Linked DNA regions of Homo sapiens: region 1 is linked to region 2. Evidence: promoter capture Hi-C in 16 types of primary human blood cells and fetal thymus (Javierre and others, 2016). All regions are on one chromosome and are shown on one strand. The core of a region is centred on a gene start or on the middle of the fragment in contact, and the rest is flanking DNA. Distances in the headings are between cores, read along the strand shown.

Region 1 (4,886 bases), core at 1,968-4,467, 410 kb after region 2:
TTGAAAATCTCCAATATGCTAACCTACACACACACACACACACACACACACACACACACACACACACACACACACAGTTCACCTAAACCCCCTGGAGGCAGAAACGTTCCCCTAGAAGCTCTTAAGGAGCATCCTCTTCCCCTCTTTCTCCAAAAAAGGGAATAGTCAGTATCCTGGGGCTCAGTGCCTCACCACAAACCACAAAGCATGGCTGCCCCCATGGGGCTTCACTGAGCATGGCAGCCTCCATTACCCGTCCTCCTGCCCCCATCAGGACAGAACCAACCTCCATCTCCAGCTCTCCAAGAAAAGGCCAACGGACTCCGCCGTTCCTCCAGTTCTTTCCCCTCTCCCACTCCTCCCAGTAGGCTGAGTCCACTCCCTGCAGCAATCCATCACCCTCAACACGCCCGTCCACCCACACCCCCACCTCCCCGCTCCTGAGCGGCACCCACACACATGGACGGTCCTCGGTTCATCTCGCCCTAGGTCTCCAACGCCCATCTGGAGCTTCCAGGGTGCGCCCGGATCCCAGCCCCGGCCGCCTCCTCCCGCCACCCGGGCCAGAGCTGCCTGAAGAGCAAGCCGGTGTCCTCGGCAGCCCCGCCCCGGGCTCTGAGGACTAGATCTCATCCCTAAACGAGGTCAGAGGACCACGGACCTCAGACTCACCTGGGAAACTGGTCACAAATACAAATTCCTGGGCCCCATCCAGAACTGCCGAATTATTCTGGCGGTGGAACCCGAAACCCGCCCTGCCTGCAGCCCCTCCGGCGAGCCCGAAACGGTACAGACCCAGGGCCCCGTCCGACGCCCGACCCCTCGCCCCAGTGCCCCCGAACGTGGCCGCCACTCTGCTTTGAACAGCGAAGGAACTCGAGACAGAGCCGAGCTGGGCTGCGGCCAGCCCACGGCCAGTCGGCGGAAGGTCGGGGGCCCCAGGCTCTTGCGCGGCCCCACAGACCCTTGCGTCAGAAGAGTGGCCCCCCGCGCCATGGGCTCTGCGGCCAGGAGGCCACGTGCGACGTCGCTCAGGCCGGAACACGTGGCTCCAGCAGAAGCCACATCTGGATTCTACACGTGCTGGGCTGCGGGCGAGGTTCTTCCACACCACAGGCGTCTTCTTGCCACCCAGGAGACCTGGGCCGGCAGCTTCCCTGCAGTGCGGGGCCCACGGGCTCCCCGCAGTGGGGAGTGCGAGAAACGCAACTGCGACCTCGCCGCGCACTCCGCTTCCGCCATTGGCTCAGGATCCCTGCGTGGAGCGAGGGCGCCACGCTGCGACTGCAGCAGGGACGGCACGTCCCAGGGGAGAGCGCGGGAAATATGGTGCGTGAGGTCCCAATTTCCAGGTTCCCTCCCACCTCAATGACTCGTTTTATAGCCGCCCCCTCAGGCTGACCTCTACCCTAGACCCCGTCTAACTAATCGCTAATCCCCTGACCTCAGGAAGGCCAGGGATGAGAGTCACAGGCCAATGCCTCTGGGCAGCCATAGGAAGTGAGGAAATGCAGACCCCAAATTTTCCCCTAAATCCTAGAAATATGCTCCAGATAAAAGTCTTTGCCTGGGTTCAGATTCTAGACTCCTGTCCTTCATTCCAGAAATTTCAGCACCATAGAATCACTGGCAAGTCTCGGACAGTATTCAGGCCCACTGCCATGGTGGCTTCCTATCAAAAATATTCTCATTTGTCACTGACCTTAGCAGGGGAAAAGACCTCAGAATTGGACCCAGTGCTCAGAGGTGGCCTGACCATCTCAGAAAGCAGTGGGGTAACACCTCCCTTGATCTGGCTGCTCCGTTTGGTTAATGCAATTCATGGCTGTGTTAGGATTTTAGCAGTCACATCACACAGTTGACTCATATTGAGCTTGCAGTCAACTAAACCCCCCAGGTCTTTTCTTCATGAACTGCTGTCAAGCTGGGCCAACCCCTACAACCGGTACTTATGTCATTGATTTTGTTTTAACCTAAGTGCAGGACTCTACATTTATCCCTGTTAAGTTTAATCTTGTTGGTTCCAGCCCAGTGTTCCAGCCTGTTGAAATCGTTTTGAATCCTGACTCTTTCATGCAAAGTATTAACTGCCCCTCCTAGCTCTATCACCTGCAAACTTGATGAGCCTGCTGCTTCGGTCAGTTGTCAATAAAAATGTCAGAGAGGACACAGGCCCAGACTGAGCCCTAAGGCATACTGCTGGAGACTTCCCTCTAGTCTAGGCTGACATGGATCCATTAATCAACCCTCACTGGGTCTGACTGTTCACCAAGCTTCCTAGCCATTTGGTTCAGATGCTTCTGCCACAACTAGATAACATGAGAGGCTTTGTCAGAAATTTGTCAGAGGCTTTGCTGGAAATTTCTCTTGCCCAGGCTGTGGCCCCCACATCAAGCTTAGGCCTTCTTTCTACCCTCCACACCCCACCATCATTTGTTTACTCATAACTTTAGGGGATTATATTTCCAATGGTGCCCCCTCCTGCATGACTTAATATTTCTGAGCTTCAGGATCACCTTGGGTGTGCCTTTGCTATTTCATATCCCATCATCCTATGCCTCCTCTGAGACCTCATTCTCTTAAATTCTCTGTCCTGCCACCTTCTCTGCCTATAAATGTGCAGTGGCCTCCCTTGCCTAAAAAGCTCTCTACTAGCTGCCCCCTTAAACTGTGGTTGGCTTCTGCCTCTGTCCTTCTTTTGAAAATCCAAACACTTCCAAACTCACCTTTCATGTCTCCTAAGCCTTTAGCAATCTGGGCTGCCAATCTCTCAGCTGAGCAACCATATTGCCCAAGCAGTGGACAGTGATGGTGGAGATAGAAGCAGAAGATTCACAACCACATCACAAAGATCAGATATGGTGGCTGCATAAAGCAGAGAGCCCAGGACCCCTCACAGACCAAAGTCAGGCTGCGGTCAAACTAGGCAGGTGACCAGAATGTTCAAAAGGACTGAGACATGAGGTCAGAGCCTAGGCAAAGTGCCTGGTCACAGACAAGAGCAGTGAACACTGAGAAGCCTGAGCCTGGGGACTTCTTACACAGTTGCTATAGGGGTTGGAATCAGTCCTGGAGCCAGGTCAGCTGGGAAGACAGCCTGGCTGGAGGGGGGAATGATGTGAACAGAGAGAGGTAGGGCCTACACTTTTCCTGAGCCCTTATTCTAGGCTGCCCAGCATCAGTTGTTAGCAACTCCAGAGTGCCTCAAGTTCAGGGCCATACCCTCAAATATCTATGTGGGCCAGACAGGTCACGTGAGTGAGATCTAGGGTACAACAGTGAAGAGTGGAGATTGACAAACTGAAAGGAACACAGCCAAGGGGGCAGTTGCTCTTCAGCTCCAGCCAACTGCTGTCACATGGGAAAGGCGATTTCATTACTGCCAGATCTGATTTTCCAAAGAGAGAAATCTTTTTAGGTCAAGTTTCTGATCTTTAATGTTGTCAATTTTTTAAAACTTTCAAAAACTTGTATTGGCCAAACAAAACCATGTCTGTGGCCGACTGGACTAGCGGTGGCCATCTTTTAACGGCTGCTAGTTACGTGGTACTTGTAGAGGCTAAGTGACTTGGGTGTGTGGTAATATTACATTTAGAACCCACTCTCTGAGTTTCTTAATGTCAATGAGAGTGACTTTGGGTTATATAGAAACAATTTATATTCATAAATTACTTTGGTTAAAAAATATATTCAAGGCCAGGCACAGTGGCTTATGCCTGTAATCCCAGAACTTTGGGAGGCTGAGGCAGGACTGCTTGAGCCCAGGTGTTCGAGATCCGCCTGGGCAATGAAGTGAGGCCCCTGTCTCTACAAAAAATAAAAAATTAGCCAGGTGTGGTGGCATGTGCCTGTGATCCCAGCTACATGGGAGGCTGAGGCAGGAGGATCACTTGAGTCCAGGAGGTTGAGGCTGCAGTGAGCCATGCTTGCCCCACTGCACTCCAGCCTGCGTCGAAAAGCAATGCCCTGTCTCAGAAAAGAGCAAACTATTCACCTCTTCAAAGTTACATATCCAAAATCCTCTCTTTTCTAAGCTTTTAAGTTCTGCTAACAAATCTTATTATTTTGCTTATAAAACAAAAAAGTTTAATGTTTGATCCAACTTACATTTAACTAAACTCCTTTAAACACTTAAATGGCATTTATATGATTAATGTATTTGATTTCCTTAAGTACTTAATTTATCTGACCAAGACAAAACCTGATCAAGTACTTATATTTCCAATAAATTAAGTTTATAAATACAGGAAATCTTAAGTTGTTCTAAATGTTCTAAAACTACAGAAAGACTTAGCAATGATTGTACCACTGTACTCCAGCCTGGGCAACAGAGTGAGACTCCGTCTCAAAAAAAAAAAAAAGAAACTTAGCAAAATTTCAACTTAAAATTCGAGTATAAATACACACTTTTTAGTTGGCATTACAAAGCAAACCTGTTACTCTCACAAATGCTCTTCCATATGTCAAGGACTTAAAATACAAACTGCATAGATCCTTACAGCAAATAGTAATGATGTGGGGGTTTGATGTTTTTAAACACACCTGTTCTTCATCCTAAGTCCTCCATCATTAAAAGATGCACACCTACCAAGGAAACACCTGATGCCACTGCATGTATTTTGGAGGTTATCTTCTCAGATGACTGAGATTGCAGAACAACCAGATATGTTGGTTGGGCCACTGACTAGACTGTGAAAGGACCCAGAAAGTGCTATTTGTGGCCTCATAAAGCCCTATCACATGGCCTCCATTACATAAAAAGGCAGTCAGTCAGCTCACATCCCTGAGTTTGACGCTATTCAGGGCCTAACTGCACTTTCTCACAGAAGTCTAGAATCCCATCTAGGCTGTCAGATACCTTGTCTCAGTGGCAAATTTCCTTGGCT
Region 2 (5,317 bases), core at 252-2,751:
TCATACATATTCACATGTGACGTTGAATTTACATGCCCATCCATTCAGCAGGTCACACAGCCTCAGACATTGAGGAGAGATAAACCCACACATGTGGGTTTGTGTCAAGGACTGTGCACCTATTCAACAGGAGGGTCCTATACATACACATGTATGTGTAGGGACATGCACACAAACCCATTGATATAGTGGGCCAGGCAATCATGTTCACAGAAGGGTCAAGTACATGTGTGCTCACACGCAGTTCTTGAACACACAACTACATCCATGCAGAGACAAGCACACATGCATACAGGGGTCCAGTTTTTGCCATAGGCTTGGAGGCTGCCAGTGTCCACTGGGGTGAGATGCAGAGCAGAACCCTGCCTCTGTTCCTGAAAGTCCCAATTCTAAGGCCCAATTTCAAGTGTGTGTTTGTGTGTGGGGGTGGTGAGGGGGTTGTGTGTGTGTGTGTGTGTGGTGATGGGGGAGGCTTCTGACCTTGGATGGGCAGATGGGATGGGTGCATGAGTCAAGGCCGCTCTACAAGGGAGGGAATGGGAAAGTAACTCAGGCAGGAGGAGGCCCCTAGCTTCAGCAAAGATGGAATGGAACGCATAATTTAGTACTCCTCCACCCCTATGTATATTGCGGTTCTAAAGGTGGGAGACGGGCTGGAGCTCTCAGCCCCCACTTAACCTGTGGGAGGGGGCGGGGCTAAGTGGGCGGGGCGGAGCATATCACCCCTCCCTTCAGTGGCGAAGTACGGGTTTAAGGTCTCCAGTCCACGCCCCACACTCCACCCCAAGTTCCACAGTTCGGGTTCTTCCCCAGGGCCAGCCCCCTGAACTCTGATCACCTTTCCTCTATTAGATCTTGGGGTGGAGGGAACTGGGGAGGAGAGACCCTTCAAACAGGATCAATGGAGGATCAGCAGGCTCTCGACCTTCATCCCAGATGTCCACCTGCCTAGTGTAGGCGGTATTTCCCTCTGCCTAGTAGGATGGCGGTCTCTCCTGGCTTGAGAGAGCCCCTCCCCCGGGACCCCCTCCCTCCAACATCCTGGACAGTCCGCGGTCCTCTCCCTTCGTCAGGTCTAACCTCAGTCTCTACTGCTGCAGCTCGAGGACAAGCTCTCCTTCGATCCCGCCGGACGCCGGGAGACGTGACCCAGATCCTGGGGAACACTGTTCGCCACGCGGCCCCCTCCCCGCGCTGGTCCCCGACTCCGTGGTGGCCGGTTTGCACCCCGCGCAGCCCGAGGCCTGGCCCGCGCCCCTCTAGAGCCGTCATGCAGGACCGGGGGACTTGGTGGTGAGAAAGGCCTGGCCCAGCTTGGAGGGTAGAATGGACGTGGGGGAGGCCTTGCCCGACCCCCGGCCCGCAGCCCCAGGCTCACGCCAGGGCGCCGCCCGCACTCCTCGCCTTGCTCACCTTTGCGCTCGGATCCGGGGCCATAGAGACAGCGACGCGCGGCTCCGCGGCCCCACAGCACCAGCTGCGAGAGGAAGGGGCCGCGGCTGGAGGCGGGGCGGGGGGGGGGTGGTGGAGGCGGAGCCGGGGGTGGGGCGGGGTCCTGAAAGGCGGGGCCGACTGGGTGGGGTGAGGGGAAGGTCGCCACTCTCTTCTTTGCGCCCCCTACTCTAGCACAATAGAGGCGGTTTGAGGGCGAGGCTCACACACAGCCTTCGGCCATCGGGCGACCCCCCACCTCTAGGCGCTGCGGCCCTGAAATCGCCCCCTGGTGGTGGCCTCGCCACCCCGTGCACCCTCCACATGCTTATAGCCCGTCCTCTCCTCCGCTGTAACCCTAGGACCCCCCTGACTTGCCTACTGCTGGGGACGTGCAAACCTGTCCTGGCGTTGCGGGGTTGGGGGACCCTCTCGGAGGGCCTTCTGGCCTGTCCTCTAACCTGGACCTCACTCCCTGTGCTCCTGCCACCCGCTTCTGCTCTCGGCCTAGGGTGTGGAGGGAAGGCTACCCTAGGTGGCGACTGGACGTTAGGGAAGCTCTGAACACAAGGTAGGGGCTTGATTCCCAGCTTCAGGGGCTGTTCAGCTTGAGCTATGCGTGGGGGAGATGGGGTCAGGCCTGAAGGGGATAAAGTAACAGCCTGACCTGAAAGGCACACAGAAAATGCTTTTTCTGGATAAATAAGCCACAAGCGTTTGCACCTGTTCACTCACCAAATCTTAACCCTAACCTAGGCTCACCTCAGGGACTGGGTCATTCAAACACTTGCCTTCCCCTCCAGCTCATCTTGGGCACCATTCTTATCCAGAACTTAGAGTGCACCCTTCTAGGCAATCAAGTACCCTATCCTTCCCAGATTCAATCACCTTACCCAGCAGCAATCTAGGAAACCCCTCACAATCAACTCCCCAACTCCTTTAACTCAACTAGGATGGTCCTTCTGTGCAAACTTGGTTCCTGCCTCCTTTAATAGGTCACAGCCTATTAAAGTGAACTTAGCCCCTATAGTCCAAACAAAACCTGCATTCAGGCCCTGACCCAGCCTGGTCCTTCCTCCTCCATCCATGACAGTATTCATGTGGGCTCAAGAGATGGACCAAAATGATAAAGGCCACAGGAACATATGTGATTGACTCTTGCATGTGCCTAGGAGTCAGAACAGGATTCAAGTGGCACATTTAACTAAAGGAAACTTGGGAAAGGCTTCATCCTTCTTTCTGGATTCCCCAAAGCTCACAGTTTGGCACTGAATCATATACAATCTCGTAGTTTGGATGGCTGTGTGTGACTGCAGACTGCTAGACAGCAGGGCCCACATCACAGTTCCACCTCCCCCAACACTCTGCAAATAGGATGTGTGTGGCGGGGAGAGGGAAGGTAGCTGGGGAGAAACACAATAAAAAATGTACACACACTTTTACAAAGAATATCCTGCTTCATTTTTTATTTGTACCCTCATCCCATCCTGAGGAATTTATAGCCCCATTTTATGGATGGGGAAACAGGCTCTAAGACATTAAGTAACTTGCCTTGAAGTTCATTCTTGTGTTTATGGAGAGGACAATCAAGACTGGAAAAGTCTGAGAAGGAGGAAGCAGGGTAAGCCAGAAGGGGAAATACCATTGGCAAAGGTAGAAATGTTCAAGCTTATGCACAGGCTTGTGTTGGGGAACTAAGGAAGGGGCATGAAAGAGGGCAGTGAGTTTGATTTGATGAAATGGCTGGGGGGGGGGGGGGGGCGGGGAGGGGTTCCTAGTGGGAAATAAAAGGGAAAAGTCAGCTAGTAGTTTGAAAAAGACCACAGAAGAAAATCCTGAAAGAGATGATGGACTGAGTAAGGACGTCTGAGGTGGGAAGACCAGTCAAGGCAGGGCTAAGAAAGATAAATCTGCAGTCCTTATCAAAAAGTGGGTTGGTGGTAACAGTGGAGGCAGGGTAGGAAGACTGCTGGTCCTTCAGTAGCAGATAGGAGAGCAATTAAACTGTAGGGGCCCAGGGGGCTAAGAGGCACAGCTTCCCAAATGTTCACAGAACCTGCAGTGCTGACTTCAGATAGCTCTGGAGGTGGCGAGTAGGCCAGTGTGGTAGGCTCAGTATCACTCAACTTCACTTTATGAACCAAGCTTTGCTCCTCTGAGGTGCTGATGGCAAACTCAGACATTGTTAAATGAGCAAAATGTGTGATTTCAATGATCACTGGGCAGTTACTTCAGTACTTTTGATAGCAGACCACAATCCATTTCCTTCTGCTAGCCTCCCAGTAAAATCTCTAAACCTAATGAGAGTATCAGATGTAAAAGCAATTAATGGAGCTGCCCATAGGAAGCCCTTTTGATTGACAGTATGTCTCTCTGCAAATCCAGCTGGTAAAATAAGAACGGGGGAATACTGACAGACAGTGGAAAAGAAAACTGGAAATCAACTAAAGAAATTAACCCTAACCCAGCCATAAATCTGCATCCTGGGACACAGGCAGGTCATTCTTTGAACAGGCTGTCACTCATCCATAAGGTCACTACCCTGGCTGCTTCGCAGGGTGGCTGTGAGAGGATTCCATTTGGAAACCTTCTGGAGAACTTCACACACACAGAAAAGTATGAGTTTTGTTTTTGCTAGTCTATTTTCCCCAACTTTGCTGTAAGAAAGTGGCTGAGGGTAGTGCTGGCCGTCTTCAGCAGTGATTGTCAGCCACTTACACACCAGAGTTTAGCTCCACTTTGCACAGAACAGTTACTTACTGTAGCAGGGATCCTAGGTGAAGGGGGTGGGTATGAATTCCTGAAACTTGAGCAGGTTCCCTGAAGCAAGAGAACTCTGGCCTAGTCAAGTTGTCCTGCTTACTGTTCAATGTGGCAGCATTTCTGTTCCTGCTTTGCCATCTCCATCTCTGGTTTGCCCAGCACTTTCCCTTTAGGTGGTGTGGTCTTTATTTTGGCTATATATACAGCTGAGGTGCTTCTTCTGTAGGGGCTGTCACCAGTGCAACAATGCGGAAGTCTCACTATTCCACTGTGCCTCAGAAGCCTGTTTAGTTTTCCTCCCAGCCAGTCGTCTTGGAGTCAGACCCAAAGCTGGGCCTTCTGGTTTGCCCTCTCTTGACTCCAGCCTAGGGAATGGTTAGTAAGGGAAAGGGAGTGTCAGGACATTCCCACAAATGCTGGAAAACCACCACCCATCACCAATTTCTCAGCTTTAGCATGCTGGCTTTTAAAAAGTGAAAATTTTAATTAAAAAAAATCAGCAGAGATAGCTGGACAGAGAAGCTCCAGCTCCCGGTATCCAAAGAAATAGGGCACACTTACAACTATAATTTTTGGAGATATGGTTTGCTCAGATGTCAGTACACCCTGAGGTGTCTGCTTAAGATCAAATCTGTCATCAGAGAAACGCCTCGTTAGAGCAGCAAGCATTTGCTGAGTTCTTGCTATATGCCAGGCACTGTACTAGGCACTTTTCATGCATTAGCTCGCTTAGTCCTCACAAACCCTGAGGTAGACACCATTATTCAACAGATGAGGAAACAGTGAGTTTAAGTAATTTGGCAAAGATCAAAAGGCTAGTATGATGAATCTGGGATCTGAGGTCAGGCCTTGGGGCAAGGTCAAGGCCCTTAACTTGCATAAAGCTGTGCTGCCTGCCCTCTAGTAAGTACTTACGGCAATGTCTCTGCTTCTTCCTGGGCTGTCATCCCCTCATCCCTCCGCCCCACTGTCAGAGAAAAATGCTCCCATTTAGTCTCTTTCTAGCCAGCCTGTCAGAAGGCAGAAATACTGGCATGGTTTTGGAACTCAAGGCCTCTGACAATGCCAAGGCCTTCTATGAGCTCCAAAGTTCCTCCTATGAGGTTTCAACCTCTGCCTCCCA

What was found. Contacts are between HindIII fragments. The CHiCAGO score rates a contact against its expected background, and 5 or more counts as called.
Region 1: a fragment that was not itself captured here is called in contact with the fragment with the promoter of SEMA4G in region 2 in 1 of 17 cell types (fetal thymus); the score reaches 5.5 in fetal thymus.

Annotation. Positions count from the first base shown.
Region 1 is chr10:100,558,524-100,563,409 of GRCh38, reverse strand. HIF1AN (hypoxia inducible factor 1 subunit alpha inhibitor) reads right to left here. Exons shown (of 8, transcript NM_017902.3): 8 at 3,412-4,886. Among named protein-coding and RNA genes, the nearest start is that of HIF1AN, 25 kb to the right of the region's middle. RefSeq lists enhancers at 225-862, 865-914, 1,025-1,104, 863-1,501. The HindIII fragment of the contact is 1,639 bases long and covers 2,398-4,036 here.
Region 2 is chr10:100,965,688-100,971,004 of GRCh38, reverse strand. It overlaps SEMA4G (semaphorin 4G), which reads right to left and starts at 1,501. Exons shown (of 15, transcript NM_017893.4): 1 at 1,414-1,501. RefSeq lists silencers at 1,485-1,544, 4,879-5,173. The HindIII fragment of the contact is 3,455 bases long and covers 1-3,101 here.